3 separate regions of the Homo sapiens genome follow, and regions 1 and 2 are each linked to region 3. Evidence: promoter capture Hi-C in 16 types of primary human blood cells and fetal thymus (Javierre and others, 2016). All regions are on one chromosome and are shown on one strand. The core of a region is centred on a gene start or on the middle of the fragment in contact, and the rest is flanking DNA. Distances in the headings are between cores, read along the strand shown.

The links. The method cuts DNA at HindIII sites, captures the fragments that hold promoters and counts their contacts. A CHiCAGO score of 5 or more calls a contact.
Region 1: a fragment that was not itself captured here is called in contact with the fragment with the promoter of ROS1 in region 3 in 1 of 17 cell types (erythroblasts); the score reaches 6.9 in erythroblasts.
Region 2: a contact is called between a fragment that was not itself captured here and the fragment with the promoter of ROS1 in region 3, in 1 of 17 cell types (erythroblasts). The highest score is 5.7, in erythroblasts.

What each region holds. Positions count from the first base shown.
Region 1 is chr6:117,889,550-117,892,249 of GRCh38, forward strand. No RefSeq gene overlaps it. Among named protein-coding and RNA genes, the nearest start is that of SLC35F1, 16 kb to the right of the region's middle. The HindIII fragment of the contact is 5,056 bases long and covers 1-2,700 here.
Region 2 is chr6:117,845,593-117,848,416 of GRCh38, forward strand. No RefSeq gene overlaps it. Among named protein-coding and RNA genes, the nearest start is that of SLC35F1, 60 kb to the right of the region's middle. The HindIII fragment of the contact is 2,322 bases long and covers 183-2,504 here.
Region 3 is chr6:117,424,590-117,427,332 of GRCh38, forward strand. ROS1 (ROS proto-oncogene 1, receptor tyrosine kinase) reads right to left here and starts at 1,353. Exons shown (of 44, transcript NM_001378902.1): 1 at 945-1,353. The coding sequence starts at 1,067. The HindIII fragment of the contact is 564 bases long and covers 1,261-1,824 here.

The sequences.
Region 1 (2,700 bases), core at 67-2,566, 460 kb after region 3:
TAATTGGCTAACTCTCCTTTTCACTTTGTGTGGTTAGCTGCATTACAAATATCACATAGCTATTTACTATCAAGGTCAAACAATAAGAGAAATAGAAAGAACCTCTGAATACAATACATTTTCAATAAGCCTCTGTATATGAATGAGTCATTTACTTATGTCTAGAAAAACAGGCAAGACAGCAAAGAACAGTTTCTGTTTAAATAAAAAGTTAACTGCATTGCTTTCTAGAAATCTCTTGGCCTATTTTAAAAGTGTATTCTGGCTTGAATAGGCAATATATTTCTTCAGGAGACATTTCCTCTCCTTTTAGCTTTTTATTTCCAACCTTAAATGAAGTCTAGTATATAAGGCCTGGTTCCAACTTTTTTTTTTTTTTTTTTTTACATTATCTGATTTTGAAAATGTGTAGGACAATTCCCTAAGTCAGTTTCTTCATTGTCAGTCAGTTATTTGACAGATACTTATTGCATGCCATGTACCGTACTAAGTGCTGGGAAAGAAGCTGCATGAGACAAGGTACTTTAGCTAAAGGAGCTTATAGCCTTCAGATAAATACATAGAAAAATTGATGTTATGTTTGGTGCACTTAGAGAAGGCTGTGGTTACACTGCTAAGGGCATCTAATTAGGCTATGGTGTCAAGAAAAACTTCCTGGAGGAGGTGATTCCTGAGGTGGTTTTTTAAAAACAACTAATAGATGTCAGCTGAATCAGGAAAGGAGGGAGAGATATGTAGAATGAGCAACATGTGGGAATGCCCAAAGGCATGAAACAACACTACACAGTAGGGAAACTGAGCATTCTGAGCAAAGGAAGTGCACACTAGGGAATAGGAAAAATGAGGCTGAAAGGGGTTGGCAAGTGGCCAGATCATGAATGAGCTTCCATTTAGCTATGGAATTTGAACTTGGTCCTGTAAGCTGATGGAGCCATTGAAGGACTAACAGAAAGAAAGTGACAATGTAAGATTTGTGTTTCTGACAAAGCACTTTGGTGGGAGCCCAAATCAGAGGTCACTGCAGTGACCAGACTGAGACATGACAAGAACCTGGACAAGGCTTAGTGATGTGATAGGATAGGAGTGAATGAGAAGGGTTTTTTTAGGAGATAATACTTTAAGCCATGGTGACTGTGGGGTAACTGAGAAGGCACAGTTTGGGCATCTCCCAGCACTCTGTTTGAGCAACTGATTTGGGATTAATGTTATTCACTATGCCAGGTGCCACAGCAGGAGGAGGAGGTGAGTGGGAGGAGTTTGGGACATAGTGTTTCTGATATGTGTTTGGAAGTGTAGGGATTAGAATTATCAGACAGTTCAGAAAAAGAAATAGATTTTTAAAAATTTAAAAAGTTGATTAGAGAGAGCCATTGGAAGTAGCGAGTGACAGCTGAAGTCATATAGGTGGATAAGATCACCTAGAGACCATGCATTGAAAGTAGAGGACCAAGTTTGAGGCTCTGGATAAAACCAACAGTTAAGGGGCATTTGAAAGAGAAGAAAGCCTGTAGATGAGACAGACAACCAAGGAGATAGGAGAAAACAAAGGAGATGTTCTTCCAGAAGCAGAAAGAATAGAGCAATCAGGAGAAGAATGTCAACATTATCAAATATTCCCTGGAATATTCAGGTAAAATAAGAACAGAAAAAAAGTTAATTGGTGTGATGGCTAATTTTGTGAGTTGACTTTACTGGGCTAAGGGATGCTCACATAGCTGGTAAAACGTGATTTATGGGTGTGTCTGTGAGAGATTTCTGTAAGAGGTTAATATTTATATCAGTAGACTCTGTAAAGAAGATCCATCCTCACCAAAGTGGATGGGCATCATCCAATCTGTTGAAGGACTGAATGAAACAAAATGGTGAGAACATACAAGGTCCTGATTCTCAGGCCTTCAGCCTCAAACTGGGAGTTCCATCATCTGCTCTCCTGATTCTCATGCCATTGGACTCAGACTAAACTATACCACCAGCTTTCCTGGGTATCCAGCTTGTAGATGGCAGATCATGAAACTTCTTTGCCTCCATAATCAAGTAAATAACTTTATAAATGTAATTATAAATCAAATTATAAAGCCAATAATAAATCTCTTCTTATATTCTTCTGTATGTATTCTATTGGATCTGTTTCTCTGGAGAATTCTAATATAATTGGCTTTGGAAAATGCAAGAGATATGAAAGTTTTTGGTGACCTTAATGAAATCCATTTCAGTGATGTATTGGGGCAAAAGCTGTCCTTCAGCAGATTACAGAGTGAATAGAGCAAAATGGAAATATAGGCTTGGTGCTGTGACTCATACCTGTATCCGAAGACTTTGGCAGGCCAAGGCAGGAGGATTTCTTGAACCCAAAAGTTTGAGACCAGCCTAGGCAACACAAGGGAACCTCATCTCCATAAAAAATATTTAAAAATTAGCCAGGTGTGGAGATGTGTGCCTATAGTCCCAGCTACTTGGGAGGCTGAGTTGGGAGGATCACTTGAGCCCGCAGGTCAAGGCTGCAGTGAGCTGTGATCATGTCGCTGCACTCTAGCCTTGGTGACAGAGTGAGACCCTGTCTCAAAACACACACACACACACACACACACACACACACACACACACACACACAGAGAGAGAGAGAGAGTGAGAGAGAAAATATAGACAGAATATAAAACACTCCTTGATCAAGCATTTAGATGGAACACGGAATTGAGAGAG
Region 2 (2,824 bases), core at 94-2,593, 420 kb after region 3:
AAAGGATAAGTCAGTGAGAACCCCCAGAAGGATTCACACTCTCTACAGGGACCTGTGCAAGATTGGAAATGGTAGAATCTTGCCGGCCCCTCTGCACTCCCCAATCATGCTTCTAGACTGAGACAGATAGCCACTTGGACATTTTGTGGGGGACAACTCTCAAGTCCAAGGGGACCTCTATAAGCTTTGAGCTCTGGAGCAGATCAGCCCTGGTGCCATAGCCCCAGTAGAGGCCACAGCTGTACTGCCTAGGAGCAGAGAGATTGCTCCACTCTCCCTTGCCAGATGGGGCTGGGCACCAGCTTCCAGCCCAGCAGTCCCACTTTCGTGTGAACTCAACTGGAGGGCAGAGCCTCCTGATGTCCTGGGAAATGCCTGGATGTCAGAGCATGAGGCCGCATTCAAGCCCACCACCAATAACCAGGAAGGCAGTGCTTGCTAGAGCTTCTGGCCCAGTGCTCCTGCTTCTGTGCGAACTCAGCTAGAGGGTGCAGCTTCCTATTGTCTCAGGAAACACCTAGATGATGGAGCACATGACTCCACCCAATCCTGCCACTGGTAGCCAGGTGGGCAATGCCTGCCAGAGCTTCAGGCCCTGTCATCCTGCTATTGTGGAAAGTCAGCTGGTGAGTGTAGGCTCCTGTTGTCCCAAGAAGAACCTGGATGGCAGGGAAGGCAACCCCACTCACCCCCACCACTGATAGCCAGGTGGACAGTGCCTGCTAGAGTTTCTGGCCCAGTGGTCCTGCTTCTGTGGGGACTCAGCCGAAGGATGCAGTCTCCTGTTGTCCCTGGCAACACCCAGATGGCAGGATGCATGACCCCACCCACCCCTGCAACCGATAGCTAGGTAGGCAATGCCTTATAGAGCTTCTGGGCCAGCAGCCCCACTTCTGTGTGAACTCAGCTAGAGGACACAGCTTCCTGTTCTTGGGAAACACATGGACAGCAGAGTACATGACCTTGTCCACACCGGCCACTGGTAACGAGGCAGGCAACCCCTGATAGAGCTTCAGGCCCAGTGGTCCTGCTTCTGTGGAAACTCAGCTGAGGGGTACAACCTCCTGTTGTCCCAGAAAGCATCCATATGTCAGGACAGGAGTCCCCACCCACCCCTGCCACTGGTAGCCAGGCTAGCCATGTCTGCTAGAGCTTCTGGTTCAGTGGTTGTAGTTCTGCCTGAATTTGCCAAGGGGCACAGCCTCTTGTTGCCCTGGAAACACCCAGACAGCAGGGTGGGCAACTCATCCACCCCACTTCCTGTAGCCTGACAGCCTACACCAGCTAGAGCTTCCAACCAAGCAGTCCTGCTTTTGCCTGAGCTCTGCAGACAAGCACAACCCCATGTTTTCTCAGGAAGCACACAGACAGCAGATTAGGACTGACCTGGTAAGGATACATCTTGTCTGCCAATTGTGGCCCCTGCCTGAGAGAGCCCTGTGGACCAGAACGCCAAACAAAAGAAATGCAGGCACAGAGACAATAATCAGAGAGGGTTCCTCTTAGACTCGGGCATAGACTAGAATTGAAGCCAGTCAACTGAATCCACCTTATACCATAAGCAAACCCCCAAGGGGCATCAAAGAAGAAAAAAGAGGAAAAACAACCATCCAAAGGACAGCAACTTCAAAGATTGAAGAAACATCAGCCCACACAAATGAGAATCAATCAGCACAAGAACTCTGGCAACTTAAAAAGCCAGAGTGCCTTCTTTCCTCCAAACAACCACACTGGTTCCCCAGCATGGGTTCTTAAATGGGCTAAAATGACAGAAATAGAATTTAGAATATGGGTAGGAATGAAGGTCATCAAGATTCAGGAGAATGTTGAAACCCAATCCAAGGAAACTAAGAATCACAATAAATTAATACAGGAGTCAGTATATGAAATAGCTGTTATAAAAAAGAACCAAGCTGATATGATAGAGCTGAAAAACACACTATAAGAACTGCATAATGAAATCACAAGTATTAACAGCAGAATAGACCCAGCTGAGGTAAGAATCTCAGAGCTAGAAGACTGGCTCTCTGAAATAACTCAGAAAAAAATTAAGGAAAAAGAATAAAAAAGAATGAACAAAATTTCTTAAAAATATAGAATTATGTAAAGACGCCAAATCTACAAATCATTGACATCCCTGAAAGCGAGGGAGAAAGCAAACAACTAGGAAAACATATTTCAGGATATCACCCATGAAAACTTCCCCAACATCACTACAGAGGCCAACATTCAAATCCGGGAAATACAAATAACCCCTGCAGGGTACAAAAGAAGACCATCCTCAAGACACATAATCATAAGAATTTCCAAGATCAAAATGAGAGAAAAAAATGTTAAAGGCAGCTAGAAAGAAGGGGAAGTTCACCTAAAATGGGAAACCCATCAGGCTAATAGTGGATGTTTCAGCAGAAACCTTACAAGCTGGAAGGGATTAAGGAGGGAACTACATTCAGCATTCTTAAAAAAAACTATTCCAACTATGAATTTTATATCCAGCCAAACTAAGCTTCATAAGTGAAGGAGAAACAAGATCCTTTTCAGAAAAGCTAATGCTAAGGGAATTTGTTACCACTAGACCTGCCTTATAAGAGGTCCTCAAAGAAGCTCTAAATATGGAAAGAAAAGACAATTACCAACCACTACAAAAACATACTTAAGTACACAAACCAATGACACTATGAAGCAACCACACAAACAAGTCTGTATGATAACCAGCCAATAATACAATGACACAATCAGACCCACATGTATCAATACTTAATTTTAAATGTAAATGAGCTAAGTGCCCAACTTAAAAGGCACAGAGTGGCAAGCTGAATAAAGA
Region 3 (2,743 bases), core at 103-2,602:
GGCAATGAAGTCTTCGGCAAAGATTTATATAAAATACTAAACTTTTAAAAAAATGCTACTAACCATGGTAAACCTAAGTAGTGTTTTAAACTACAGTTTAAATCAAAAGTGTATAAGTGCAAGTTTCTTTTTAATCTGCCACATAATTCTATCTCCAATACTTTAGAATAATATAATGAATACTATATTTAGTACTTGCATTATGTTTAAAAGTATGGCTATAGATAGGGTCATATGCAAACTATCATGATATTTTATTTGTCTTTAGACAGGAAGAGTGCATTTTCTCTGTCTATAGAGTACTTGGTTTTTAAAGTTAATTCAGTGACTGTTTTAAGCACAACTAAATTACAACTGAAAAGAGATGGTACAATAGTTAGAGAAGGGATGACACCCAGAAATGAGAATGAAAGCATGAATTTCCATATAAAAAACTCACTAACTAAAATAATAAATGCACAAACAGAAATAAAGAAATGTACAAATAATTATTGCTTTAAAATATTATTTTACATGGCAACTGTATCTGCTTCCTTTTTCATCCAGCTCCCTACACAGCTGGAATTAGCAGGCATTATCCTGTGGCCAAACCGATTTCAGGTTTCAAGACAACTACTAATGACTTTGTAATAAATAAGTTTAAATAGAAAGTTTTTAAGTGTGCAAAATTGGCAAAATTGATTCCATTTAAACCTCCTTTACCCAGTCCTCTAGCCCAAAAAATATATGACCACATACCCTAAAGAAATAAAATAGCCTGCTTTATCTTCTGCAATTATAAGGGCTCCTAACTTATTTAAGAAAAAATAATCTATCTTGCCTTGTTGCCACCACTTCTCATAAGAAAACTCCTCATAAAGAGAAAACAATTCTATCAGTTATAACAAGCTGAATGCTACATGTTCTAGTTCCTGCAAAGACAAATATTAGATTGTGAGACTTACCAGATTAGTTACACACGACTTTAGGCAGCTATTTAAAACTGTACACTGCACCACAGAAATCCATAGGCAGCCAAGAGTTGCAAAATTGACAAGCTTCGGAATAAGACAGTAAATGTTCTTCATCACTTCACCAATGGCAGATTTTTAGATGGCCGGTCTAATTTTCTCCATTTTGCTATATGAATTATTTGGGCTTCATCACTTCAATTGGAGGAGTAGCTGATGGATTTTGCTTTGTTTGTTTTGCTATATTAGGATATACTTGCCTTTTGAAATAATACTTAGCCTTTTTCATTTAGACCTTTGAATGCTTGAAAGCTTGTAACAGTTCCATAAGAGCTATTTCATAACAGCTTCCTTTTACTCCCATAAAGTCACCCAGTGACTAAAGGTTAGTTCTTAGAAGTGCACTTCACATGGAAATTAAAGAAAACGAATTGTATTTCAGCAAGGGTGTGACACATGCAGTCTGAAACTGGAACATTTCAGTGGGTCGTCCACCACCTTACTTCTCTGAGCTCTTTTCAGCTCTGCAGGGAATTGGGTTTTGACCACGTATGCTTTAGCAAACAGTAGCACTATTATAATAAAGAATTATTGGAAAAATAGAGGCACCCAAATCAAGCAATGCAACTGAGAGAGAAAACAGAACTCAGAAGCCAAATACATATTTTTAAATTTAAGAGCAAACAAAGCTGAAATTAATAGACAAATACCCTGGGAGAGAGTTAAAAACAAGGAAGTTGGTTAGAGTACTCTCAGAACTTTACTACATATTAACTAAAATACTGACTTATCAGGTCTATCGAGACAGCTGAAACTAGTTACCAGAAACCTAAGATATGTTCAAGTGTCTGCTTTGAGAAGGAAACATTGTACAAGCTTCCTTCCTGCCTGCCTTCCTTCCTCTCTCTCTCTCTCTCTCTTTCTTTGAGACTGAATTTCTGTCTGTCGCCCAGGCTACAGTGCAGTGGCATGATCCCAGCTCACTGCAACCTCCGCCTCCCAGGTTCAAGCGATTCTCCTGCCTCAGCCTCCCGAGTAGCTGAGACTACAGACGCCCGCCACCATGCCCAGCTAATTTTTGTATTTTTAGTAGAGATGGGGTTTCACCATGTTGCCCAGAGTGGTCTCGATCTCTTGACCTCGTGATCCGCCCACCTCGGCCTCCAAAAGTGCTAGGATTACAGGCGTGAGCCACCGCGGTACAACAGGCCAACCTCCTTGTTTTCTTAAATAAATTATACTAAATGTAACTTAACCTTTTCTTAATGATATAAGGTTCTCCCTATGAGTAACACATGCATGAGGTTTTGTTTTGAGCTGAACGTCTTTTGATTGGATTTTTGTTTGTTTGTTTTTTAATTTTTGTGGGTACATAGTAGGTGTATGTATTTATGGGGTACAGGAGATGTTTTGAAACAGACATGCCATGTGAAATGAGCACATCATGAAGAATGGGGTGTCCATCCCCTCAAGCATTTATCCACTGAGTTGCAAACAATCCAAGTATGTTCTAAGTCATTTTAATATGTACAGTTATTATTGACTGTAGTCACCCTGTTGTGCTATCAAATAGTAGGTCTTATTTATTCTTTCTACATTTTTTGTACCCATTAACTGTCCCCATCTCCCATCCCCCACCCCACCCACCACCACCCTTCCCAGCCTCTGGCAACCATCCTTATACTCTCTTTGTCCATGAATTCAATTGTTTTGATTTCTAGATCCCATAAATAAGTGAAAACATGCAATGCTTGCCTTTCTGTGCCTAGCTCAATTCACTTAACGTAATAATC